Regions from separate parts of the Homo sapiens genome. Here all the other regions are linked to region 4. Evidence: promoter capture Hi-C in 16 types of primary human blood cells and fetal thymus (Javierre and others, 2016). All regions are on one chromosome and are shown on one strand. Each heading gives the region's core, a stretch centred on a gene start or on the middle of the fragment in contact. The rest is flanking DNA. Distances are from core to core; before and after follow the strand shown.

Evidence for each region. The method cuts DNA at HindIII sites, captures the fragments that hold promoters and counts their contacts. A CHiCAGO score of 5 or more calls a contact.
Region 1: a fragment that was not itself captured here is called in contact with the fragment with the promoter of ST8SIA6 in region 4 in 1 of 17 cell types (erythroblasts); the score reaches 7.2 in erythroblasts.
Region 2: a fragment that was not itself captured here is called in contact with the fragment with the promoter of ST8SIA6 in region 4 in 12 of 17 cell types (erythroblasts, M1 macrophages, M0 macrophages and 9 more); the score reaches 15.1 in erythroblasts.
Region 3: a contact is called between a fragment that was not itself captured here and the fragment with the promoter of ST8SIA6 in region 4, in 4 of 17 cell types (M1 macrophages, M0 macrophages, M2 macrophages and 1 more). The highest score is 7.3, in M1 macrophages.
Region 5: a fragment that was not itself captured here is called in contact with the fragment with the promoter of ST8SIA6 in region 4 in 1 of 17 cell types (naive CD4 T cells); the score reaches 5.1 in naive CD4 T cells.
Region 6: a contact is called between a fragment that was not itself captured here and the fragment with the promoter of ST8SIA6 in region 4, in 1 of 17 cell types (M1 macrophages). The highest score is 5.2, in M1 macrophages.

What each region holds. Positions count from the first base shown.
Region 1 is chr10:16,812,239-16,814,938 of GRCh38, reverse strand. The region is part of intron 2 of RSU1 (Ras suppressor protein 1); the gene reads left to right. Among named protein-coding and RNA genes, the nearest start is that of RSU1, 3.8 kb to the left of the region's middle. The HindIII fragment of the contact is 794 bases long and covers 956-1,749 here.
Region 2 is chr10:16,829,572-16,832,271 of GRCh38, reverse strand. It overlaps CUBN (cubilin), which reads left to right. Exons shown (of 67, transcript NM_001081.4): 65 at 855-1,020. Among named protein-coding and RNA genes, the nearest start is that of RSU1, 13 kb to the right of the region's middle. The HindIII fragment of the contact is 1,229 bases long and covers 758-1,986 here.
Region 3 is chr10:16,847,571-16,850,270 of GRCh38, reverse strand. All of the region lies in intron 60 of CUBN (cubilin), which reads left to right. Among named protein-coding and RNA genes, the nearest start is that of RSU1, 31 kb to the right of the region's middle. The HindIII fragment of the contact is 2,587 bases long and covers 101-2,687 here.
Region 4 is chr10:17,453,260-17,455,959 of GRCh38, reverse strand. ST8SIA6 (ST8 alpha-N-acetyl-neuraminide alpha-2,8-sialyltransferase 6) reads left to right here and starts at 1,365. Exons shown (of 8, transcript NM_001004470.3): 1 at 1,365-1,805; 2 at 2,303-2,401. The coding sequence starts at 1,705. The HindIII fragment of the contact is 5,030 bases long and covers 1-2,700 here.
Region 5 is chr10:16,793,627-16,796,353 of GRCh38, reverse strand. All of the region lies in intron 2 of RSU1 (Ras suppressor protein 1), which reads left to right. Among named protein-coding and RNA genes, the nearest start is that of RSU1, 22 kb to the left of the region's middle. RefSeq lists enhancers at 398-457, 668-887. The HindIII fragment of the contact is 3,505 bases long and covers 1-2,727 here.
Region 6 is chr10:16,868,639-16,871,338 of GRCh38, reverse strand. It overlaps CUBN (cubilin), which reads left to right. Exons shown (of 67, transcript NM_001081.4): 59 at 1,486-1,703. Among named protein-coding and RNA genes, the nearest start is that of RSU1, 53 kb to the right of the region's middle. The HindIII fragment of the contact is 1,057 bases long and covers 761-1,817 here.

The sequences.
Region 1 (2,700 bases), core at 103-2,602, 640 kb after region 4:
AGGAGACTTTATGTAATATTTATAAATGGGGAGAATGGCTTAGCTATTTCGGTTCAGCTCCGTTATCTCTTTGAAGCCTTGGCTTTTATTAAGGAAGAAAAGCCACTTGCTTCCTGAAATATATTTCCGGTATAACATTGGGTGGTGAAAAGCGAGATCATTCTTAAATTTTCCTAAAGAAGTAGCTAACAACGGATAATAGTACTTTTTGGGAAGTTGGGTGGAAGTGAATTTGGAGATTTGCAGATTCCATCTCCTCTGGCTTCTGTAGCATTGAGCCAAGGCTGCTCTCTGCAAACTCCCTGACCTCAGGACTTCTCGGAGCCTAGGGGGTTCCAGGATGCTCTTCGAAGCCTCCACCAGGGCTCACTTCTCAGCAGTGCACACACACTGACACAGTGCTTAATATATACAAGTATTAAAATACTTCACATGGCTACATTAATTATAAGTGTAAGAATTTTTTTTTCTTTTTTTTTTTTTTTTTCCTGAAAACAGGGTCTCGCTCTGTCACCCAGGCTGGAATGCAGTGGTGCAGTCACAGCTCCCTGGGGCCTCACCCTCCCAGGCTCAAGCAATCCTCCCACCTCAGCCTCCCGAGTAGCTGGGACTATAGGTACACGCCACCACGCCTGGCTAATGGTTTTATTTTTTATTTCTTTGTAGAGATGGGGTCTTGCTATGCTGCCCAGGCTGGCCTCAAACTCCTGGGCTCAAGGAGTGCCCCCATCTTGGCCTCCTAAAGTGCTGGCATTACACATGTGAGCTACCACACCCAACCTCCATGTTTCTTTACTGATAAACTTTTAGCTGTAACCAGGAAGTTTTATATACTAGTATCCAGCTTAAACACAGCTTAAACTTGTATGTACAGAGAATAGCTGTTTCTTGCATCTCAAGTTTTCCCTTTATTATTCTTACTTTGTTTAATTTCTCAAGAGGTTAGAATTAAGCTTTGAAGATAAAAGTAAGGTTTTGTACTACTAAGCATATGAGATGCCCGTCTTTCTTCCTGGGAGAGTTGTATCTTCTAACGCAGCCCTTCCTTAGAGACAGCAAATTACCTTTAAAAGATGTTTTGAGGAGTTTAGGTACCAAGAACTTTCTGATGGGGAAAACTTCTTAGGCTGGAGACAGGTATCAGACAGGTTCTACAGTTTTCTAGTAGTCCAGCCAGATTCTAGAAATGCTCACTTCCTACCATGAGAGGCAGAGGAGTACAGCACATAGGAGGGGAACCTGGATTTGGATAGACGTGGATTCAAATTCTGCTAGTTAGTACTGTGTAACCTTAGAGAAGCTACTTAACCTCTCTGATCCTCAAGTTACTTAATAATTGGTAGCCTAAGAAACCACTTCATAAGACTGGTTTAATGGTTTGCGTTAAATGCAATAATGCACATTAAATGTTAGTTATTAACTAGTGTTAGATCCAATAATGTACATTAAATGTTAACTATTAATATGAATATCCAGCTATAGACCCATATGTCTCAGACATACCCAGTTCCAACATAGTCAGTAGCCTGAACCAAGAACTTTACTTTGTTAACTCGACTGGGTAAGGCATTTGTATCAGGTGTTGGAATTTTTTGTGTGGCTTATTAGAACCTGTAGTGTTTGGTACTTTTGCCTAAGGTTCTAATTGATTTAGATAGCTATTTATTTAAAATTTGTCCTAATTTATTTATTTTCCATCATTTTGTTTTAACATGGCATGTAATTTGCACACACATTCTCGTTAAAGCTTCCAAGAACACCAGTGTGGGCAATAGAGTGAGACCCCATCTCTACAAAAAATTAAAAAATGAGCTGAGGGTGATGTGCAAGTCCCAGCTTTCAGGGAGGCTGCGGTGGGAGGATTGCTGGAACCCAGGAGTTTGAGTTTGTAGTGAGCTATGATCGTGTTACTAGGTGACAGAACAAGACCTTGTCTCTTAAAAAAAAAAAAAAGCTTCCCAGCATAATCGTAATGCTGCTGATTTTATTCTTTTTATTAAAGAGATTTCACTGCAGAAACTCTTTCCCAAGCAGCAGCTGTCTTCATCTGGTTGATAAAGTTGATTTTGAAGGGCCCTGTAATCAGCTTCCATTTCCATAGAGACAGAATCCCAGCTGTAGCCGGAGGAACTTTCTTTCATTTCTCTTATTTAAGTGTTTCCTGATTTTTTAATCTCTTCAAGTGTATTGCCCTCTCTGGGTGGTCAAGCCTTTATCATTTTTTTTCCAAGTTAGACTAAAATATTTTTCAGATAAATCTCGAAAACAACCTGCTTTCAAGGGAGTGGTCTTTCTAAAGGACCAGGCAAAATAATAAACAAATATGATCATGGGTTATCTGGAAGAGCTATCTCAAAAGTCTTGTTAAACCTGGAACACATGCTATCCATGTCGACCTTCTTTGGGGGATAGATTAAAGAGCTGGGGAGGACCTGTAATTTTAGATATAATCTATTAAAATCATTTTTTTGTTTTTTAATTTTTGTTTTTTGTTTTTGAGATGGAGTCTTGCTCTGTTGCCCAGGCTGGAGTGCAGTGGCGTGATCTCTGCTCACTGCAGCCTCCACCTCTTGGGTTCAAGCGATTCTCCTGCCTCAGCCTCCCCAGTAACTGGGGTTACAGGCGTGCGCCACCACACCTGGCTAATTTTTATATTTTTAGTAGAGACGGGGTTTCACCATATTGGCCAGGCTGGTCTTG
Region 2 (2,700 bases), core at 123-2,622, 620 kb after region 4:
AAATCAGCATTTCCGCATGTCAGGCTGGTTCCAACATACATTGCCCGCGTAACGTTTCCGTAAGAAGCGTCGAGAGCCCTCCTGGAAGCAGGGCTGGTTGTGAATGCAGGGTAGCAGCCAGGCTGGGGGACAGAAAGTGGTTCAGTTCACAGTGTAGTTCTCTCTCCCCATAAAACACAGGCTCATCTCCTGTTTTTATATGTGTCTACTCAAAAATGAGTTGAAACAAAAAAGCAACAAGGCCTCGGAATGTGTTTGTAAAACACATTTAACAACAGACATTGTATAGATTTATAATTCTGTCCTTTGCCCATACAGAAATTCCTTTCGTTCTGAACTTTATTATACTTTGCATTGTATTTTTTCATAGCCTCTTTACAGCCAAGTAATTTTCAATGGGAAACACGTGCACACACACACATACACAAACACACACACAATGAGAAAGGTGTAATAGTTGACTGGAAGCAGAGCAGGCAACATTGCCCCCGCCCATCTCCACCTTTTAAAAATTCACTTTACCTACATTCTCCAGAATGTTTCCCCAAAAGCAAAGGCTGCAGGATCACAGCACAAACTACGGTATAAAAAAGCTGCCTGGTGTTTTAATTGCTGTAGGTTAACAGGTATTTCTGAATCCAAATGCAAATGTTTTTTGATCTACACGTGGAACATTTTTCCCCTTTGCAAGTGAAGGTGACTTCTGCATGTATTTTCAGAAAACGCTTCATTCTTAACTGTATAAAAAGACAAAGCTTTTCCGACCAATGTCATCATTCAAATTGTCTCCATTTTAATGTATATACCTTAGAGAAGAAAGTGTAAGTTTAATAATGAATGACTCCTTCCTAAAGGTGAGAAATGGAAGTAACAGCAATTCACCATTACTGGGCAAGTACTGTGGAACTCTGCTGCCAAACCCTGTCTTCTCTCAAAATAATGAACTATACCTACGATTTAAGAGTGATAGTGTAACTTCTGATCGTGGATATGAAATCATCTGGACTTCATCACCCTCTGGTAAGACATTTGCACTTTGTACAGGAAAGCACTGTGAGAAAAACATGAGGTGTCTAATAGTAAAAGGCAAAGTAACTTTATATTTTTAGCTACCTGTGTACCTGATTAGTTTATGTTAAGAATAGAGATTTTAACATTGAAAGTACAGATTACTTTTTTTTTTTTGAAATGGAATCTCGCTGTGTCATCCAGCCTGGAGTGTAGTGGCGTGATCTTAGCTCACTGCAACCTCCACCTCCCAGGTTCAAGTGATTCTCCTACCTCAGCTTCCCAAGTAGCTGAGATTACAGGCATGCGCCACCATGCCCAGCCGATTTTTGTATTTTTAGTAGACAGAGCGTTTCCCCATATTGGCCAGGCTGGTCTCAAACTCCTGAACTCAGGTGATCCAACCTCCCAAAGTGCTGGGATTACAGGCATGAGCCACCGCGCCCGGCCAGATTACTTTAAATTTTACATTTATTCATTATTTCTGTTTATAAAAGAATATATATTCATATATGAAACATATATAAGGTAAGGTAGGAAGATTCAAAAATTCCTTGGTAAATTAAATTTTGTTAGACTTTTTGACTTTTGGCTTGACCATCAAGGAAGTTCTTTGAGAATTTAAAGAAAAATTTTTACCAAAAATCCAACTTATGAACACATTCTGGCATATATATGAGTAGTTGTGCTTCTCGCAGGCCCTGACATTTCTTGGCGGTTCTGGAGAGAAATTGCTTTTTTTAGGGTAGTAAGTATCTTCTCACATTTTTGGCTGGCTGTTTATCAAACAACTAAAGAAAATTTAAGTCATGTCAATACATTTAATTCAAGAGAGGAGGAATACCTTTATAAAATATCCCAAAATACCAAAATACCTTCAAAATAAGAAAGATAAACAGAACTCACTTTAAATATCTTAAGAAAAGCGTTCTATAAAGATAATCGTGGGTAATGGAATCTTGGCACCCAAAGGAAGCTTAAAGGTGACCTCCAATGCTCAAATTTTATCAACGAGCAAATAAAACACCAAGATTAAGCTAGGTGCTGTGGCTCACACCTATAATCCCTGGGAGACCAAGGTGGGTGGATCACCTGAGGTCAGGAGTTCCAGACCAGTGTGGCCCACAGGGTGAAACCCCATCTCCACTAAAAATACAAAAATTAACTGGGTGTAGTGGCACATGCCTGTAATCCCAGCTACTCGGGAGGCTGAGACTGGAGAATCACTTGAACTTGGGAGATGGAGGCTGTAGTGAGCCGAGATCACGCCACTGCACTCCAGCCTGGGTGACGGAGCAAGACTCCGTCTCAAAAAAAAAAACAAAACAAAAAAAACCCACCATGAACCCGGGAGGTGGAGCTTGCAGTGAGCCAAGATCGTGCCACTGCACTCCAGCCTGGGCGACAGAGCAAGACTCCATCTCAAAAAAAAAACCAACCAAACAAAAAAACCCACCAAGATTAATGAGTTGCCCAAAATGCTCCACTAGACTGAGGTGAAGGTGAGATTAGACCTCAGTGGTCAGAGGCCCAGCCACGTGCTCTGTAACTATGCCAGCCAGCTTCTTCCTGTCCCAGAGATGACCTGGATCTCCACAGATATATAGTCTAAATCATGACAGCCTTCATATACAGATTAACAAATTGAACAAATTAACACCAAAACTTGAAGTATTTGACCTTAAGTATGTC
Region 3 (2,700 bases), core at 145-2,644, 610 kb after region 4:
ATGGGATGACACATGCAAATTAAGAATGCATAGTTCAGGATAGTCAGCATTTAAGCGCTAATGAATGCATTCGATGCAGGCTTGAAGCAATGTGCAAGCTTAGAAGGAAAGAAAGTTCATGAAACTCGTGTGATCAAGAATGACTTGATAGAGCGAGGGAAAACTTACTCAGGTCAGGAGAGAATTCAGGCAAGGTGAACATTTTCAAAAAGGCATAGGAATTGATACGTGCATGTTCTCGAAAGCGTAAAGAGGCTGGCTGTGTTGAAGCAGAATAGTGCTAAAGAGTAGCAAGAAATAAGATGGCCTACATAGAGAAATACCGAGATTACAAAGGATCCTGAAAGTCAAACTAATGACTTTAGACTCTGTGCGGGTGAAAATAAGGAGTGGTTGAAGGTTTTCCAATGAGTGAGGTGACAACAGCAGTAGCTAGGGAAGACTAACCTGAAATCAGCAGCTGTGGGAACTGGAAGGAGAGGAGGCTGGGAGGGCTCCAGAGAGAGGTCCCTCCTAGGTGAGAAGGTCAGTCTTAGACCTGGATCAGGGGTGCAGCCATGGCGGTGATGGCAAGAGGGGTGCAAGAGAAACTTAAGTTCTAGGATTGCAATAAACTTTAGAGAAAATAATTTTAAAAGAAAAGGAAGGAAAATTTGTGGAGGGAATACCCATTTGAGCACTTAGTTACATGCTTTTGTTTTTACTATGAAAGGGGCTAAGGTTGGGAGGCCAGAAAAATAACAGTGTGGTTTGGTGAGAGCAAGACAGACAAGTGAGACTGCAGTGGGCAGAGAATGGAACGGGGCTCCGGTGAGAAGACAGCTCCACGAATAGAGAGGACACAGCAAAGAGCCTTCCTTCCATCAGGAGAAAGGATGCTTTCTTAGAGGGAGTCAGCATAGATTTCAGAGAGTCAGGCTCTCAGCTCCAGGAAAAGTACCCAGGGAGGCAACTGGAGAAGGCAAAAGGCACAGGAAAAGAACAGACGCGTCATGAAAAGATAAATGTGAAGACCAGGAATAGTGTAGTATCCCTGAAGTCAAGGGGCAGGGGGATTCTTTTACAAAGCATGGGTGGTCAATACTATTGAATTGTAAAGTAGAGGCCAAGAAAGGGAAAGATGAAGAACAGCCTCATTGCACTGGATGACAACCATTTAAATAAAGTATTGGCACAGAAGCTGGATCAGAGGAGTTCATGAAAGACTAAAGATAGCAAGGAATGTCAATTCCAGTTTAATTCTCCTTTCCTAAAATGAGACCTGGCCGGCCGAGTGCGGTGACTCACGTCTGTAATCCCAGCACACTGGGAGGCAGAGGTAGGCAGATTGCTTGAGCTCAGAAGTTTGAGACAAGCCCTGGCAACATAGTGAGAACCCGTCTCTACAAAAAATACAAAACAATTATCTGGGTGTGGTGCTGTGCACCTACGGTACCAGCTTCTCGGGAGACTGAGGTGGAAGGATCCCCTGAACCCAGAAGGTATAAGCTGCAGTCAGTCGTGATTGCATCACTGCACACCAGCCTGGGCAACAGAGTGAGATACTTTCGCCAAAAAAAAAAAAAAAAAAAAAAAAAAAAGGCTGGGAGAGACCAAAATGACTAGAGCAGTCCTAAAGCTGAATTCAAAACTGTTTGAGAGCTCTCCTGGCTTTACAGAAAGGTAATAAGGTTTAGAGACGGAGAGTATGGGGACTCTAACCCAATTTTGCTGTCAGACAAATTTCCTAATCTCCCCGATTCCTCATCATTTCGTCAATTTTTCTTTAAATCACATAATAGTACCTACTGTGAAAGGCAGTTTTGAGGATTGAAATTATGTGTACTAGAGCGTTTAGCACTGTGCCTGACATAAATTGTAAACAAATTTACCTCCCTTTTTTTCCCCGTTGGAGTAATTCCAAATAGGCATGGGCACTATGGAATTTCTTTTTCTTAAAAACTAAAAATAATGGATTTGCATATAAAATTACAATTTTAAATTCTTATAGAATGATTTGAGTATGGCCCTGCTAGGAGAGTTGACTGGATTTACTCTCAAGATCCATTTTTATGGAGTGTGATTTGATAATGTCATCAAAACAGCCTGTCATTGTCTGAATTTCCGCAATTCATTCAGGCCAGAAACTGCAATATCAAAAACAAGGAGTTATTTTCTTGCTTCAAAATAAAATATCGTTTTTTTCAAATAAATTCTGTTCAGAACTATTCTTGTTTTCCCCCTTGGAAAAGCAATTTCCTTCCATTGGCAACGTTTCCAACTACCACTAAACTGGCAGATCAAAGAATAGCCCTTGGAATGTGGAGCTTGGAGCTTTCTTTATTAAAGAGATTTTTCTGTGATAAATGGGACGGTTGATTCCTTTTAGATTTTTTTTTAGAGATTATAATCAAATCACTTTTTAGAAAAGCTAATTTAACTGAACTCTGTGGTAGATACACAAGTAAAATCATACCAATTCCATTATTCATTCATAATTCTATCATGATCGTTTGTGAAAGGGTTGACTTGGAGAGTAATTACGGTAACTGAATCACGTAGTGAATTGTGCATGTCACTGAGCAGTCTCTTTTGAAATCCACATCGCATCCATTGCAGGAGTTAGTTGGCAAGGGTATGTGCCAGGCCCTGTACCAGCATCACTGGAGATGTAGAGAGTTAAAGACATCTCTTGAAGAGTTCAAGCTTCTTGAGGAGCTG
Region 4 (2,700 bases), core at 116-2,615:
TCTCCTGCAACAGATGAGATACTCGTAAATGAGATACTAACCAATATGATCTAGACCGTGGTTTAGTTCTGGCTGCCATAAGAAGGATACCATAGGCTGGGTGACCGAAAGAACAGAAATTTATTTTTCACAGTTCTGGAGGGTAAGAAACCCAAGATCAGTGTGCCAGCATGGTCAGGTTCTGGTGAGGGTCCTCTTCCTGCTTGGCAGAAAGCTGCCCTCGTGCTGTGTCTTTACACTGCACAGAGCAGAGAGAGAGGAGGCAAATTCCCCGCTGCCTGCTCTTATGAGGGAACTAATTCCACCAGGAAGCCTCCACCCCATGAACTAATCAGGTATGAAAGGCCCCACCTCCAGATACCACCACATTAGATTGGGGATTTGGGTTTCAACATATGAATTTTGTAGAGACACAAACATTCAGCCCATAGCAGTGTTAAAAGAAAAACATCAGACAAATTAAATTTAGCACAGTTTATTCGAGCAAAGGGTTCATGAATTGGGCAGCACTCACAACCAGAGGAGGTCCAGTGAGGTCCACCCCATGGTGTGAGCAGCAAAGCCTGATAGGCCAAACTCAGAAGCACAGTGGAGAAACTGATTGGCTATAGCTATGCAGGCTGCCTTGTGGGGCCTGGTATAATGAGTTGGTTGCCCATGATTGGCCAGTAGCCCCCTGTTCATTACAGCCTAATGTAGGTTTCCATTGTTAGGTGGGAACTCAACGTACAGAGACAGCCTCAAGCTAATGGCCTCTTGCTTATTTAAGAGCAGTATGCAAACTTTTCCTGGAAAGTTTCAAATGGTAAATATTTTAGGCCCTGTGGGCTATGCCACCTCTGTCATCACTACTCAATTCTGCCCTTGCAGCCCTAGATCATACAGCCATATGCAGTCACTGATAATACAAAGCCATGGGCATGGAGGTTTTCCAATAAAACTATTTGCAAATACAGGCAGGGGCTAAACGGGTCTCCAGGTAGTAATGTGCTCATGCCTAAAGGTCTCCTAGCCCCTCATACCAGTTCGCTGTCCCTCTGAATCTGGGTTGAAGTAAGCACAGGTTACTGCTTCTGTTCAGTGTCATGATCCACCCAGCAATTCCCCAGTCCCCAGCTTTCTTCATGCGTGGGAGGATCCAGCCAAGCGACTGCACAGTTTTGAAAGTTTTTGAAGCGGCCCCTTTTTCTCCTCTCCTCTCTCCGCAGGCAGAGTTGTGGTGTGGCTGGGTGGTCTGCGTGGGCGTCCGGGGGATTCGCGGGCACTCGGGACGAGGCGAGGGCGCAGAAAACTTGGAGCCCAATCAGCACGGAGTTGAGCTTCCGCGCCCCAACCTTCAGGTGACCCCGCGCGGCGGCGGCGGCAGCAGCAGTGGCAGCGGCGACCGGAGCCCGCAGCAGCTCCGAGCGCCTCCGGGAGGACAGGCGGCGAGCTCGGCGAATCGTCATCTGCCAGCCGATCGCGGCGCTCCGCGGGCCGGGGCCGGGAGCCCGGGGCGAGCCCGAACGCGGCTTCTTCTCCGCCCGCCGCGGAGACTCTGCCGGGTGGGCTGCGGGCGCCCCTCGCTGCCGCCTGTGAACGCTGTGGGTGCGCGGGGCTGCGGCCACGGCGGCGGTGGCGGCGGCGGCGGGAGCCGCGAGTCGGGGCCGCCCGGGCTGTGCTTCGCCCCGGCAGCAGCGGTGGCGGCGGCGCCTGTGGCTCAGGATGCGGCCGGGGGGCGCACTGCTCGCCCTGCTCGCCAGCCTGCTGCTGCTGCTGCTGCTGCGCCTGCTCTGGTGCCCGGCAGACGCGCCCGGCCGCGCCAGGTAACCCACCCACCCGCCGGCCGCGCCCCGCGCCGCGCGCCCCGCCTGGCGCCCCCGGACCCCCAAGCCGCCCATCGCTTCCCCTCGGGCGCGGAGACTTTTGGCCGCGGCGGGGAGCAGCCCACGGGCGGCGACGGCCTGAGAGTGGAGTGGGGGAGGGGGTCGCAGGGAGGCGACCCTCCGACCGGTGGACGGCGGCTGGGGAGCAGAGGGACCGGTCAGGGCTGCGGGGGCTCTAGCGCGCATCGCTGTGGGCGAGGCAGCTGTGGAGCGGGACCTGCCGTCGGGTTCCGCATCAGGATCTCATGCTCCCCATTCTGGTCCTTGCTGTCTCTTCCTTCCCGCCCTAAGGCTCTTCCAACTCTGGGGCTGGGGACCTGGCCTGGGAGCCGGGGAGTGCGAGATCTCCCTGCCAGGCAAGGAGCGCGACTCCCAGCCTTTCAGCCAACAGCTCCCGGCGGGGTGTAGCAACTTAAGTTTTCTCCCCGGCTGTGCAGGATTCTGGTGGAGGAAAGCAGGGAGGCCACCCACGGCACCCCCGCAGCGCTGAGGACGCTCCGGAGCCCGGCGACCGCGGTACCGCGCGCCACTAACAGGTACAGCGGCGCCCAGCGCGGGCGGACTGGGGCTCGGGAGCTGCGAGCCGGGCATGGGGCGCGGCTGCACCGGCTTGGACTCGTTGGGAGTAGGCAGGCTGGGACGGCGCGAGTGAGTGTAAGAGTGTGCGTGTGTTTGAAGAGGGCGCGGGGTTGGGGGGGGGCACCCTTCACACTCCCTCAACCCTCTAAGCCTGGATGTGAATGGTCTTTGAATCAAGGGGGATCCTCCAGCAGCTGCATTTGAAAAACGGGTGCTGAGTTTTCCTCTCGACAATGGTGTGTTGAAAGCACCCCCG
Region 5 (2,727 bases), core at 174-2,673, 660 kb after region 4:
CCCTGGAGCAGATCAGAAGAAACACACCTAAGTTTGACTTAGGGGCTGATTGATGATCAATGTCAATCTAGGTGACTGGTTATAGGATTGGAGAAGGCAACACTTGGAGGCCAGGATAAGGGATGACATGTGGGGAGAGAATCAAAATCCAAGGTTAAAAATAATGGTTGAGCTGCCTACGAGACCAAATCATGTTTTGCCTTCGGGTAAGAGCAGGTGGCACACCATGGTCTTCTAATATTTAGTGACTGTTGAGGGACTTAGAACTCTTAGAGCTCCAAGAGTCATGTGGCTTTTGTACAGACAGCAGGTTTAGGATTCCAGCTCCTCCTGCTTGAAAAGAAGGTTTACTTTTCCCAGGGAAATGTGGGGCCAGGTTCAGGTGAGAAGTATGGGGGAAGGTTGAGGCGGACGCAGAGAGCTGCTGCTCAAGCGGAGAATGGAGAGTGATAGAGAAACGTCTGACATCAGCCCCTGGGAAGAGGGTGCCGGTGCCTCACCTGGGCGGCTTGTTTAGGGGTCCGGGGGGTTGAAGATACACCCAATTTTCTGAAATGCAAAGTGTGCACAGTTAATACTGCTCATGTCTTAACTTTGGCAAAAAAACAACCTGTGTACTTAAACTCCTTGTCTTTTGAACATCATAAAATGCCATGCAGTTGGCAAATTGTGGATGCAACCGGTGGCATATTTGTTTAGCCAGTAAGACAGTATCAGAATTAATCAGCTTCTTGTTTGGAAACAGCTTTTAGGGGGTTCTCTCTGCTTACTAGTTCTGAAATCACAGACAAGTTACATAACCTCTTGTGTCTCATTTTTCTCATCTAAAATTGAGAGGGAAGAAGAGACTACTATTGCCTTGTAGGGTTATCGTGAGAAATAGGTGAATTGATAAAGTTCTTAGAACTGTGCCAGTCATGTTTTAAGCATTTGGTAAGCATTAGCTATTGTTGTTTGTTATTACCTTATTTTTTTTTAATTTTTTTTTTTTTTTTTTTTTGAGATGGAGTCTCACTCTGTCGCCCAGGCTTGGGTGCAGTGGCGCGATCTCGGCTCACTGCAACCACTGCTTCCTGGGTTCAAGCAATTCTCCTGCCTCAGCCTCCCCAGTAGCTGGGATTACAGGCACCCACCATCACACTTGGCTAATTTTTGTATTTTTAGTAGAGATGGGGCTTCACCATGTTGGCCAGGCTGGTCTCGAACTCCTGACCTCAGGTGATCTGCCTGCCCCGGCCTCCCGAAGTGCTGGAAATACAGGCATGAGCCACCACGCCGGGACTGTTCTAACATTTTTGATTCTAGTGAACACATATGTAAAGTGCTCAGCACAACACAGTGATGTAGTGGTCATTACATAAATAATCTTTTTTCTCTCTTTTATTTGTTTCATTTTAAAGATGAGGAATTTGTGCTCCAGAACAATCCAGTGATTTTTCTCAGGATCTCATGGGATGACAGGGCAGGTCTCACCTGCTAGGAACTGTGCGTTCTTTGCTTTGCTTTTGTGTCTTATTTTATTCTAGATAGGAAGGAATTTTCCATTCAGGTTTATATTATTTTTATTATGGTTGGAATTGCTGTCATAAAGGACATTCCATCCAGGTGTCAATAATAATTTTCCAGTTTGCAAAGAAGAAGCTCAAGATTTAGAATCTGGAAACCTTGATTGTACTCTGTTCTGATTCTGCTGGCCCGTGGAATCTTAGAATACCTTTACTTCTCTGGCCCACTGTTTTCTTATCTGTAAATTGAGGAGCTTAAGTTGTTTGATTTCTAGAGTTCCTTTGGCTCCAACATTCTATAACCATGATTTCTAAAACTGCATAAGTTTTGTGTTACACAAATAAAATAGTTTATGCTAGAAAAATTAGTCAATACAAACAAGCTAAAAAGAAAAAAGAAGAGACAGAGGAGGAAGGTAGTTAGAAATAAAACAAAATGGACTCTGGTCCTTGAAGGTTTTATTAACCCTAAAAAAATTTTCAGGCACTTCCCTTTTAATGGGAGTTTCAAAGCACCTTAGTACTTTTATGGTACAAGTCTGCCTGTCAGAGTTCTCCAGAGAAACAGAATCCATAGGCAATATATATATGGAGATTTATTATGGAAATTGGCCCAGGTGATTATGGAGGCTAAGAAGTCACATGATGTGCTGTCTGCAAGCTGGAGAACCTGGACAGTTGGTAATGTAATTTAGTGCAAGGCCAAAGGCTGGAGAGTCATAGGAGGGGTGCGTGTCAGTGATGCAAGTCCCAGAATCTGAAGGCCCAGGAACCAGGAACTCTGATGTCTGAGGGCAGGAGAAGATGGATCTTCATGAATTCTCCCTTCCTCTGCCTTCTTATTCTATTGAGGCGCTCAATGAATTGGTTATTGCTCACCTGCATTGGCAAGGGTAGGTCTTCTTTACTCAGTCCCCTGATTCAAATGCTAATCTCTTCTGGAAACACCCTCACAGACCCTGGAAAAGAACATTTTACCAGCTATCTGGGTATCTCGTAGCCCAGTCAAGTTGACAAATAACATTCACCATCACTTTCTGTATTGTATCCTAGTGTTTTATTTCATCTCCTTATTGCAGAGGAAGCTCATTGAGGGCAGCAGCTGCATCTCACTCATATTCTATCCCTGTCCCACCAAAGAAGTACAGTGGCTTGCAGAGTAGCTGTAGCTCACCAAGTTTTGTTAATACCATCCAGTGACTGCATATCTTAGGTGGCTTAC
Region 6 (2,700 bases), core at 40-2,539, 580 kb after region 4:
GCTGGGCATGGTGTCCCATGCCTGTAATCCCAGCACAGGGAGGCTGAGGCAGGCAGGTCACCTGAGGTCAGAAGTTCAAGACCAGCCTGGCCAACATGGCAGAAACCTCATCTCTACTAAAAAATATACATGTAATTAAAAAAAATAGCCAGGCATGGTGGTGGACACCTGTAATCCCAGCTACTCGGGAGGGTGAGGCAAGAGAATCACTTGAACCAGGGAGGCAGAGGTTGCAGTGAGCTGAGATTGTGCCACTGCACTCCAGCCTGTGCAACAGAGTGAGACTCTGTCTCAAAAAAAAAAAGAAAAAGCAGAAGAACCTATAAAAATGAGGACAGGATATCAAATATTATTTTTTTAAACAAGTTTTAAAAATAAGCTATAATAAACCCACCACAAAACTCTAAAGTAAATCCATGTAAGAAGCCTTGCTTGTTCAGGAACTCTAGAAATCGTTATTTGAAATGACAAAGAATAAGACCTGAATTAAACACTGTATAAGACAGAGAAAAGTTAGGGATGCATCTGTCAGGATAGGTTATGCACATAGTAACAAACAACTCCACCTCACAGCAGCTTAACTCAACAAGTTGATTTCTCATTGTAATGAGCATGTTCAGTGTGGCCTGGCATGGAAGCTCTGCTCATCGTGGTCATCCAACAACCCAGGCTGATGGAAGCTTCGTTTTTACATTTGCTTCCATGATCATCACTGCAGTGGGAAGGCAGTGTGGCAAAGCAAGTAGTCATTTGTAAAGCTTCTTCCGTAAAGTAATATGTATCCCTTCTGCTTACATTTCTGTGGTCAAAGCAACTCCTAGCAGCCATGTCAAGCCTCAAAGTGTGCCCCTAGGGCAATCCTACCAGTGCTGGGGAGGCAGAGAGCTGGGACCATGTGCAGAAGTGTCAGTGACCACCACAGAGGTCTTAAATGTAAATTTCCTGTTCTTCACCTGACCTTAACATAAACTTCATTTTAAAAGAGGAAAATGAGACTGTGAGGAGAATGGAGCTGTGATTCTAAAAGCAGCATTTCTTCTATTATATTAACATGCTTCCCATAAGTTCTACTTCATCTCATAAAATAACAAGGGAAGAGTAAATATGGTATTTTTAATGAGACCTAAAAAACTAAAGTATTGCTGGGATAGTAAATATCAGTTCAACTTGTCAAAAGTTGTTCTCAGATGGACTTTAATATGCCCTAGACTGTGAATTCCTTGAAAAGTAAGACTGTATCTTACTCACTTTGACATCCCCAGCTGCTGTCACAGTTTTTGTTGTATTGTAATTACTAAAAACAAATTTGGCTAAACTTTTGAACTGATCAGTAAAGTACTGTTTGATTTCTAATATTTCATATCAAGTGAGTTTTGAATGCTCTACTGGTAGTTTTTTCCTTGTCATTTTTTTTGCAAGAGCTAAAGCTACAATTTAATAGAAGTCCAAATGGAAACATCAGTATTAACAAGGTACATTTCACAGGTTCAGTGATTTTGATGTGGTTCCCTCCACCTCCTGCTCCCATGACTACCTGGCAATTTACGATGGTGCCAATACCAGCGATCCCCTTCTTGGCAAATTCTGCGGTTCCAAGCGCCCACCAAATGTGAAGAGCAGCAATAATAGTATGCTCCTGGTGTTCAAGACAGATTCATTTCAGACAGCAAAAGGCTGGAAGATGTCTTTCCGGCAGACATTGGGTAAGAATTCTGGACTTGTAAATCTATTTGTCAGGACTGTTACCTTTCTGCTTTATTTAATTTCCCCGCCCCCCCCCCACCCCCACCTGATTATGATTGCTTTTCCTTGAAGCTTAGAAGAATATGCCATGTAAGGGCTTGGTTTTAAAACTTACGTATGACATATTTTAATGTTGTAAAAAAATCACTCAACAAATGTACCCAGCACTTTGGGAGGTTGAGGCGGGTGGATCACCTGAGGTCAGGAGTTCAAGACCAGCCTGGCCAACATGGTGAAACCCCATCTCTACAAAAATACAAAAATTAGCTGGGCATGGTGGTGTGTGCCTGTAATCCCAGCTACGCAGGAGGCTGAGGTGGGAGAATTGCTTGAACCCAGGAGATGGAGGTTGCAGTGGGCCAAAATCATACCATTGCACTCTAGCCTGGGTGACAGAATGAGACTCTGTCTCAAAAAAAAAAAAAAAAAAATCACTTTGGTAGCACAGTGGAGGAAGGCTAGAAGAACCTACAACATGGGAAGGAAGAAGCTTATGATAGAAATCTAGATGGGAAGTGTCAAAGCCTTGAACGGACCCAGAGGGGAAAGAGATAAAGGGAAGGGCAGAAATCTGAGAGACGGAAGGCAGAATACATTGGAAGCACAGTGTTTGGACTCTGATGATATTTTAATGAGGACATGAATTGAGGATGACTTTCTATAGGTAATTTGTTGGATGATGGTGGCTTAGGAGACTAAGATTTAAGGGAGAAATGTTTTATTTAATTTGGAGTATTTTAAGTTGGAAGACCTGTTTAAATGGAGCTGTCTAGTTGGAAGCTGATGCTTGAGAAGGAATTTGGACTGGAGAGGGTGATGTAGCGGGGGTAGGTAAAGTTAGGTGAGAGGATAAACTGAAAATATGCCCCAGATTACTCCCACTGCATGTGAGAAATAAATTATCCACATCAAACACCACTGGTGAGAAATACCCATATCAAATTAACTCAGAATTTT